3 separate regions of the Homo sapiens genome follow, and regions 1 and 3 are each linked to region 2. The links are contacts of gene promoters, found by promoter capture Hi-C in blood cells and fetal thymus (Javierre and others, 2016). All regions are on one chromosome and are shown on one strand. Each heading gives the region's core, a stretch centred on a gene start or on the middle of the fragment in contact. The rest is flanking DNA. Distances are from core to core; before and after follow the strand shown.

Region 1 (3,291 bases), core at 558-3,057, 170 kb after region 2:
AGATGGAGTCTCGCTCTGTCGCCCAGGTTGGAGTGCAGTGGCGCGATCTCAGCTCACTGCAAGCTCCGCCTCCCGGTTTCACGCCATTCTCCTGCCTCAGCCTCCTGAGTAGCTGGGACTACAGGCGCCCACCACCACGCCCGGCTAATTTTTTGTATTTTTAGTAGAGATGCGGTTTCACCGTGTTAGCCAGGATGGTCTCCATCTCCTGACTTCGTGATCCACCCGCCTCGGCCTCCCAAAGTGCTGGGATTACAGGCGTGAGCCACCGCGCCCGGCCGAGATGTTTTTATTTTTTTCAAAAAATAGCCAGGTCTAGTGGCACGTGCCTGTAGTCCCAGCCACCCGGGAGGCTGAGGTGGGAGGATTGCTTGAGCCCCGGAGTTCTAAACCACAGTGAGCTATAATTGCACCACTGCACTCCAACCTGGGCGACAGAGTGAGAATCTGCCTCCAAAAAAAAAAAAGAAAAGGAAAAAATAAAATGTAAGTCTGGTGTGTATGTGTAAAACTAAAGCAAAAACAAAAAAACTAATTTGGAGTCCTTAAAGAAACTCTGGACAAAGGTGTGCTTCCAGAAAATAAAACCAGAGGCTCAGGAGGTGACCTGAAGTCGTCCCTCAGGAAAGTGCCTTTCAAAACCAATCAGGCAGGAAACAGGACATCCCACATAATGAGGCAAACTAACTAGGGAGCTAAACATAATTTCAGGTGCCTTTTGCCAAGAATTCAACAGGCCATTCAGCTCGCAAACCTGTACTTAGTACCCATTATGTGTCCTCCACCACACAACGAGCAAGAGGGAATGGAGGAATATTTCTGCAACTCTATTCCCTTAAATACATACATATACATACATGTATATATAGGTATATTCAAAGCAGTCTATATTAGCATTTAAAAGACCAGGGTACAAACATGTGCTAAGTAACGATGATAAAATAGAATCCTTTTCCTGTTGCTGTTGTTGCTGCTGTCCATAGACAAAGCCTCTAAAGAGACTGACCTCCTTACAGTGTGCTTTGAAGCAGATAGGCTGTAAGTGGAAGCTCCAATGTCACCAAGTACACTAGATGTACCAAGAGAGACAAACACTGAGCTGGGGAATCCACCCAAGATTTTAAAGAGATGAAGAACAAAATACTGTAATGGAAATGTTTGCCAAAATCTCTCTCCTATCATTCTGCTCAGCCACTAGGCTAGGAGTGTCCCAGGCGCCCTGCCTGGATTGTAGCCTGGAGTGGACTGTCTGGTCAGGCCAGCTGCCTTCTCACAAGCACTGGAATGTCACAATGCCCCTTGGTATCTGTTTCTTCTCCTGAAAAATTGGGATATTCATAGTCCCTACCTGCTAGACCAGAAATGATATCATGTATGTTCAACAATTAAAACAGTGCCTGATGCATGGTAAATGCTCAATACATGTGAATAATCATCAGTGAAGCCCAGGGCCCCCCGGTAAAATCGAAAGTCGCAGAAGTACGTCTCTGTGGAGGGAAATCATTTCCATGTTTCCAAACCCCTCCACAGGGAATCATGCCGCACACAAGTCTTCCATTTCGGGGAAGCTTACATGTTGGATTTGGGAGCTCTTCCTCCACCCAGCTTTCCATGGGGCCTCAGGCACAGTCTTTTGAATACCTGCAAATGTGACACATTTGTGCCCCAGATATAATTTTTGGAAAAAGATAAAAAATGTCCAGCTAAGCCTGGTGAATGAGTATGAGTCATAGTCTGCTCAAAGACCACTGATGATGACACAATAGCACCCGCTCTCCAGCTGCTCCAGAGAGCACCAGGGTCTCCTGAGAGCTGACCTTTCTCAGGCCCCTAGCTGATATGACACTGCCACCTGGTGAGGCTGAACGGAACTACAGGGAAGTTCTTGAAGCAAACAAATCCCTAAAAAAAAGTAAAACCAAAGCTGAGCCCCTGGATGACAGCCCTGAAGCTCAGTAATAGTACAGAGAACTCCAGTTTCCCCTTTTGCCAAATGTTCCCCTGGAGTTAAATTAACTTGATCTACTCAGCCAACTTCAAGCTTTTGCTAGGCAGTTAATATTTCTGTCCTTCCTTTTTGTTTTACACTTGGAGACATAATTTATACACACACTCTCGCATATTTATATGCATTTTAGGAAAATTTTATATACATTGCATATGTAAATCTTAACTGTACAATTTTGACAAACAGATACACAGTTGTATGCACACCCCAATCAGGATAAGGAATGTCATCGCCCTAGAAAGTTTGTTCTGCCCCTTCCCAGGCAGTCCCCCTCAAAGTAGCAGTGACTCTTCTACTTTCTGTCACTATAGATCAGTGCTGACTTTTCTAGAGTTTCATATAAATGAAATAATGTAATACGTACTGTAGTGTTCTGACTTCTTTCACTCAACATGAGGTTTTGAAATGAGCTCATTTGTTTTATTGTTGAGTAGTCCATTGTGTGAATACACTGTAATTTGTTTTTCTATTATACTGCTAATGGACATTTGGGCTGTTTCCAGTTGTGAAGAGCATTGCTAGGAACATGCTTGAAGAAGTCTTTTTGTGAACATATGTGTTCATTTCTCTCGGGCAAACATCCAGGAGTCAGATTGCTGGGTCAATGGGTATCTTTATAAGAAATTATCAAACCATTTTCCAAAGTGGTAGTAGCATTTTTATCTTCCCACCAGTAGTGTGAGACCTTCCTTATATTTTTTTAGGTTGGAAGGGGTCCAATTGTACATAAGCAGCAACATAAGTGCTAAGAAGCACTCACAGACACTATCGTGTCAGCACTGGGTGAAGTGGGCATTCTCTACAACTCCCCACACTTTAAAATGGAAATGCTGGATTAAAACATCATAAATCAGCTCATGAAAACATAAGAGCAACCCCCAGAGCTTTAAAAACACATAGTCATTCCTCACTAAAAGGAACCAAGGATCCTTGGCTGATTCCAGATTTGGTGCAAGGAAAGAACAAAGTGAGCCTGAAACCTCCATCCCATCGGAAGCAGGGAGGCACCCAGAGGCGGCGACGGAGGAGCCAGCGCGGGGGTCTGCCACTTCCCGTCTCACCATCGCTGAGTGCTGGGAGACAATGTTCCCAATGCAGACAGCTACCAGAGGACTTGCATTAAGAATACAGATAAAGAACTTCCGCAAAGCAACTTAAAAACACTGAATTTTTTTAAATGGATAAAAGATTCAGTCACTTTTAAAGAGAATATAACCAATATCCAATAAATACTTGAAAAAGTGATCAACATTAGTAATACTCAGAAAAATGAAAATTTATTT
Region 2 (3,347 bases), core at 633-3,132:
TTGTAGTGGCTCATGCGTGATATCCCTAACAATTTGGGAGGCCGAGGTGGGTGGATCACTTGAGGTCAGGAGTTCAAGACCAGCCTGGCCAACGTGGTGAAACCCCGTTTCCACTAAAAATACAAAAAACTCGCCGAGTGTGGTGGCAGCCACCTGTAATCCCAGCTACTAGGGAGGCTGAGACACGAGAATCGCTTGAACCCAGGGGAAGGAGGTTGCAGTGAGCTGAGATCGCGCCACTGCACTCCAGCCTGGGTGACAGACGAAGACTCCATCTCAATTAAAAAAAAAAAAATCCTCAGGGCTCAGATCCTGTTTTGAGTCCAAGGCTCCACTTAAAGACAAACACTATTCTCTTGTTTTGTTCTTAATCCACGTCTGGCCTCTATTCCTTACCACATGGTGCCTTCCCTGAATGGTTCCTTGCTCTTACAACAAAGGCGGTATTGTACAGCCTTCTATGCCCAAAAATGTGGAGGCAGCTGATCCCCAGACTCTTGGTCCTCACCTGGAGATTCAATCTGCCTTGTTCAGTTGAAGATTCATTAGACTTAGGTCACCACTGTTGTGGCCCACCAGTTTGACTAGAAAACCGAGGGCTTTGACTTCTCTGCCCTGCTGTCTTACACAAGCACCAACTGTGCCACTGTCAAAAGGCTGTTCGAGCCAATGTGCACACACTCAGACACTCCACATGCTAACATAACAGTAACTGCTGCCGCTGAATGCCAACTATTAAGTGCTCTACCTACAATGTCTGATTTAATTCTCGACAATTGTGGAAGGTAGGTACTGTTAGCCTCATTTTACAGATGAAACAATTAAGGCTTAAAGAGGTTAAGAGATTTGCCCAAGGTTACACAGTCCTAGAGCTAGGAGAGGAAGGAGCTGGGATGTGAATCCAAGTCCAGGTGACATGAAGTCCTTGGTTCAGAAGCTTGTAATGCAAGCAAAAAAATCCAGCTTCAGCCCCCATCCCCCTACCAAGGCCATTTTAACCCAGAATGTTGTGGTGAGAAGTGGGGACCTTCCATAGGAAATCCTCCAAAGTCTCTAAAGATTGTAGTGAGAAGTAGGGACCTCCCACAGGAGATCCTCCAGAGGCCGTAACTGCTAACAGACATGCGTGGGGAAACTACAGGCGCCCTCTGGCTGTTGCCTCAGGGACGAGGCTGGTTACCAGCTCTCCAAGAGAACCCCAGGCCCCACTGACTGTTCCCTTCCCACATGACACACACATGCAGGTTCATTCCAACCTTACAGCAATCTCCTCAGGTAGAGCGCCCTCACTTTAAAGAAGAGGACACTGAGACTCAAAGGGATGATGTCAGGTGCCCAAGGTACTAGTCAGAAAGTGGCCCTGGGGCTTCTGCAACAACCACTATATCACACAGCCCGAGCTCAATCCAACTCTGCAAGAGTCCATAAGCAAAGGGGCGGCGACATGAGGTGGAAACAGTAGCCTCCATCAAACAAAGCCTGAGACATGGGTGTGCACGTCGGATTCCATCCCACCGTCCACTCGCCTGGAACCCGTGCCGGTCCCCCAGTTTCCCCATATGCCCAGCTCCAGCCCCGACAGTTAGTGAGTGCTCACACAGGTCCGCCCCGTCTGTGTGGTCAGAAGCGGCTGGGGATCCGGTACTAGTTCTGCGCTCCGCGGGAGACCGGCGCCACGGACACCCTTCTGGCCTAGACCCAGCCAGGCTCGTCCTACCTGGCCGCGGCGGCCGATCTTCCTGCGCTGTAGGGTTAGAGCTCGCGGGGCCGAAGGTCAAGGGCGGCGGGCGCCTGAGCACTGCCACCAGTGACCGCAGCCAGCCGGGGAAATGCAGCAGCTGCTAACCCAGGGCCACTCGGCCGGATCACCCGAGAGAAAAGCGGGCGCGATCCTGTGACGTCACAGGCAATGGCCACTAGCAGGGCGCCAATCCCGGAGGGGCGGGCCCATCGTGGGGCGGGCGGCTCCGGCGGGTCTTCAGGCTACGGGTTCAGCCAGGCGCCAGCCGCGTTCTCTGGAGACGCTCTCTCTCGGAGGGACCCTGCACTTGCCTGAACTCGAGAGTGGGCGCTGCCCGAAGGTTTGTCCCTGGGCGCTTCGCTGGCCTCATCCGGTCTCGGCCTTGTTCTGGGCCTGGCGCCTTTCCCATTGTTGGGGAAAGTGGTCTAGGAGACCAAGGCAGCGTGCTGGGTGGCAGAGAATGATTTGTGGCTTCTGATTCTGACATATGTCGTTGAGGAGGGGAGGGATGACTGCCCCCGTTTTACTTATGGAGAACCTGGGGCCAGAGCTGTTTTCCCAGGGTGACACAGGCGGTGAGTAGTGGAGCTGGCATTCCTGACCCCAAAGCGCAGCGTTTCCCAGCCACTCTCCGCAGCCAGGCCTTCACCTGCACTGCTGGGCGCAGGTGGGGAAGTGGGGAAACGGGACTCCATCCCCTGCAGAGGGCAGGCGTGTAGGGAGTGGCAGCTGAACTCCACAGACAGCTACTGCTCAGCTCTTCAGCTGCCGACTTTGAACAGTGTGAGGGGCTCTGTACAAGTGGCCCCCACATTACTCAAGGACCAGATCATCAAGAGCTTTACTTGTCCCACGAAGGAGTCTGGACCTTGTTTACGTGCACAGGAGACCGCTGGAAGGTTCTCAGTGGCGTGCCATGTCCCGACTTCTATTTGAGAAGTTTTTCTCTGGCCACCCGTCTGAGGAAAGGTGTCTGGGTGGGTGGTGCGGTTGAGAACAATGGTGGTGCGGTGCGTGGTGGAGAAGGTGAGTGTCCAGAGATGTTCAGGAGGAAGAACTGACAGCTCTGAATGACAGGAGGTGGAAGTGAGAAGGAAGGAGGTACAAGGCCAACTCCTGGGTCTCTAGCTCGGTAGGTGCAGGGCCGTTCATGGAGACAGGGCTCCTGGAGGAGCAGCGGGTCTGGGGAGAGGATGGTGAGCTCCGATTTGCATGGGACATCCAAAGGGCATTGAACGGTGGGCAGTTGGAGACATGGGTCTGGAGCTTGGGACTTCAGCCTAGCTTGCAGAAGGTCACCACAGATATTGAAATGGAACCTATGGGGGTGGCTGTGATCAGGGGGATTCGCTGAGGAGAACCTGGCACAAGGGTTTCACTAAGCCATAGCTCCCAAAGACTTTCTGAAAAGCTAAGTTACAGCCTGGAAGAAAATATCTGTAAAGGCTATATTTGATAAAAAGACTTGTATCCAGAATATAGAAAGAATGCTTAAAAGTCAGTAGATAAAATCAAACAATTCAATTTTTTAGATGGACAAAATATTTGAACTGACATTTCATCAAATAAGATATACAGACAGAAAATTGGGACATGAAGGCTGGGC
Region 3 (3,283 bases), core at 587-3,086, 220 kb after region 2:
GCTAACACGGTGAAACCCCGTCTCTACTAAAAATACAAAAAATTAGCCGGGCGTGTTGGCGGGCACCTGTAGTCCCAGCTATTCGGGAGGCTGAGGCAGGAGAATGGCGTGAACCCGGGAGGCGGAGCTTGCAGTGAGCGGAGATTGTGCCATTGCATTCCAACCTGGGTGACAGAGTGAGACTCTGTCTCACAAAAAAAAAAAAAAAAAAAAAAATAGGACTGGGCCCAGGGAAGAGAAGAGTTTTTGGAGTCAGGAGGTAAAATTCAGCAATGGGGATCACGTTAAGGCAGACCTTAAATATTCAGATAATTTTTCACTAAATAGGGAGCTATTTTAGGTCTTGAGGAAGGCAGTGATGGGCAGGAAGGGGTCATTTGCAAAGACTGGCTTAACAGTAGTATGCAAAATATAACTGTGAGAGAGGTTCTTGGTATTAACCAACTTTCGAGGTGCTTGTTTACTTTCCTAGCTTCTAGGTGCTGGGTTCTGGCTTATTAGATGTGGACAGAAGTGATGTAAGCCTGGGTCTAAGAAAATATCCTACAAATTCCTCTAGCTTTCTCTTCCGCCCTTGTGGTGACTTTGGAAGCCAGATGTTCCAAATAATGAGGATAGAATAAGACAGAATGGTTCCCGTCAGGTTTTAAGGGAGACATAGCTCTCTGCGGGCTTGTTACTGTACCACAGCTTAGCACATCCCTCTTCAATAAAGCAGGAAGAACTGGAATTAGAAAGCTACTGCTGCCAGGAGTGGGAGCTGGGGATGATAAAAGTATAGGCTGGGCTGTGAATTCAGAGAAAGTATGCAAATCCAAGAGGTGTTCTGAATGGAGAGAATTTGGTAAGTAGAAAAGTCATTCACTCATATAAATATTTATTGAGCACCTATTAGCAAGGCACTGTGTGAGATACAAAGACCTGTAAGTCACACCTCCAAGTGCTTACAATCTAGTTGAGAGGATAATACATATACATAAATTATAAAACAAACAAACCATCGAGCATAATGGTAAAGAGAATAGATTTTGAAGGTGGACCTGTCTTCAAGACCTGGCATCACCTTTTACCAGCTGGTTCACCTTGGGCAAGTGATTTAATCTCTCTAAACCTCAGGGTGCTCATCTGGAGATGCAGATGGTAACAGTGCCTACTTCATATGGTTGGTGACAGGATCAATTAATCTACTTCCTGTAAAACCCTTAGCTGAGTCTTTACCTCATCGCAGGTGCTCAGTAAGTGCTAGCTACTAGCAGTGGAAGTAAGAGGTCTAAAAGCTGGGACACAAGAGAACAAGATTAGTGCCCCAAAATGCTCCAAGAGAGGGGGACTAACAGCCATCAAAACAAATGTTCTGAAAAAAAAAAATAGTACTGCTGTGATATCATTCTGCCTTTCCCTCCTGTTGCAGCCTCCAGTTTCTTAAAGTGCAGTGATACCTGGGGCCTAGGTTCTCAGACAAGAGGTGTGTCTCCTCCTAACATCTATCCTATTGTCTGACAAACCTCTTCAAAATTTTGTATCTTTAGAGTCATTTCCATGGCCTCCCCTACAGTTCTATAACACAGCAGGAAGGGAGTGCTTATTAAACACTCTGGCGCAGAAGCAGGACAGGACAACGGCAGCCAGAGTGGGTAGAATGAGCAAATGGCAGCTTTAAGACAGGCGAGATCTATCTCAAATTTGTATGGAAGTTCTTGTCCTACCCAAGCTTTTGCCCAACTCAGTCTATTCCCTGTTTGGCGTAACGCCGTTGATGTTGAATAACAGAAGATTTTGAACTGAAAACTTTCCCACACACAGTGCATTCAAAGGGCTTCTCTCCCGTGTGGACACGCTGATGCCGCGTGAGCCGGCACCGCTGGCTAAAGGCTTTCCCGCATTCGCTGCATTCATATGGCTTGTCTCCAGTGTGGATCTTCTGATGCTGTGTAAGGGATGAGCGGTCAAAGAAAGCTTTGCCACACTCGTTACACTGATAGCGAGGGTCCCCAGCATGAGCTTTCTGATGTCTATTCAGAGACGAGACACCATAGAAAGCTTTCCCGCACTCGTTACACTCATAAGGCTTCCTGCCAGTGTGGATTAGCTGATGGCGAGTAAGAATACTTTTCTGGCTAAAGGCTTTCCCACACTGATGACATTCATAAGGACTTTCTCCAGTGTGAATTCTCTGGTGTCGAGTAAGGGATGAACGGTCAAAAAAGGCTTTTCCACACTCGTTGCACTGAAAGGGTTTCTCTCCAGTGTGAATTCGCTGATGGACAGTTAGGGACGAACGGTCAAAGAAGGCTTTTGAGCACACACTGCACTCGTAGGGGCTCTCCCCAGTGTGTGACATCAGATGTCTGCTGAGGCTGCTCCTGTGGCTGAAGGCTTTCCCACACTCGCGGCAGTCGTAGGGCTTCTCCCCAGTGTGAGTCCTCTGATGGCGGGTGAGGGATGAGTGGTCAAAAAAGGTCTTCCCACAGTCACTGCATTCCTGGTGTCTCTCTTTAGTGAGAATTTCCCTGGACAGGGCTGACCGTCGCCGCAAGCCTTTGTCCCGGGAGAGGGATTTCTTACGAGTCTCCCCTGAAGGGCTTTGCTTTTCTGTTCCCATCCTGCCATTGGGTGTATGAACTTCAAATTTAGGACACAGAGGACTTTGCCTTCCAAGGCATTCCCTCAATGATCCTTCTGATTTTTTGTCTGAAGCATCGTGAATCTCAGGCTTAGTTTCCCAGTCTGGAACAAACAGAAAACAGATGCAGTTTTTTTCCTGGGCTAGGAAATATTACAGAAAGAAGAGATGCTCCGATGAGTCTGAAAGTAATGTATGGTCACTGCATTGCTTGCTCCCATAGATAGTCTTACACGGCAGGGAGGGACTAAGACCTGGGAGTGAAGAAGGTGGCAGGGAACAGAATGGATGGTGGACACCTCAGAAAACAGGAGAATGTCCAGTGGGAGCATGGCCAGGACAATCAGGAGAGCATGCCGAATAGACAGGATGGCACTCAATAGCAATAGCAAAGTGTGGCTGGGCATGGTGGCTCACACCTGTAATCCTAGCACTTTGGGAGGCCAAGGTGGGCGGATCACCTGAGGTCAGGAGTTCGAGACCAGCATGGCCATCATGGCGAAACCCCATCTCTACTAAAATACAAAAATTATCCAGGCGTGGTAGCGGGTGCCTGTAATCCCAGCTACTTGGGAGGCTGAGGCAGGCAGAATCGCTTGAACCTGGGAGGTGGAGGTTACAGTGAGCTGAGATAGCGCCATTGCACTCCAGCCTGGGCAA

What was found. The method cuts DNA at HindIII sites, captures the fragments that hold promoters and counts their contacts. A CHiCAGO score of 5 or more calls a contact.
Region 1: a contact is called between a fragment that was not itself captured here and the fragment with the promoter of FAHD2A in region 2, in 3 of 17 cell types (M0 macrophages, M1 macrophages and M2 macrophages). The highest score is 16.1, in M0 macrophages.
Region 3: a contact is called between a fragment that was not itself captured here and the fragment with the promoter of FAHD2A in region 2, in 4 of 17 cell types (total CD8 T cells, naive CD8 T cells, activated CD4 T cells and 1 more). The highest score is 8.4, in total CD8 T cells.

Annotation. Positions count from the first base shown.
Region 1 is chr2:95,230,381-95,233,671 of GRCh38, reverse strand. It overlaps a transcript of ZNF892 not described here. Among named protein-coding and RNA genes, the nearest start is that of ZNF892, 25 kb to the right of the region's middle. The HindIII fragment of the contact is 473 bases long and covers 1,571-2,043 here.
Region 2 is chr2:95,401,243-95,404,589 of GRCh38, reverse strand. FAHD2A (fumarylacetoacetate hydrolase domain containing 2A) reads right to left here and starts at 1,882. Exons shown (of 8, transcript NM_016044.3): 1 at 1,718-1,882. RefSeq lists enhancers at 974-1,093, 1,234-2,172, 2,164-2,243, 2,173-3,112. The HindIII fragment of the contact is 5,947 bases long and covers 940-3,347 here.
Region 3 is chr2:95,180,547-95,183,829 of GRCh38, reverse strand. ZNF2 (zinc finger protein 2) reads right to left here. Exons shown (of 5, transcript NM_021088.4): 5 at 1-2,727. The coding sequence ends at 1,724. Among named protein-coding and RNA genes, the nearest start is that of ZNF2, 16 kb to the right of the region's middle. The HindIII fragment of the contact is 245 bases long and covers 1,714-1,958 here.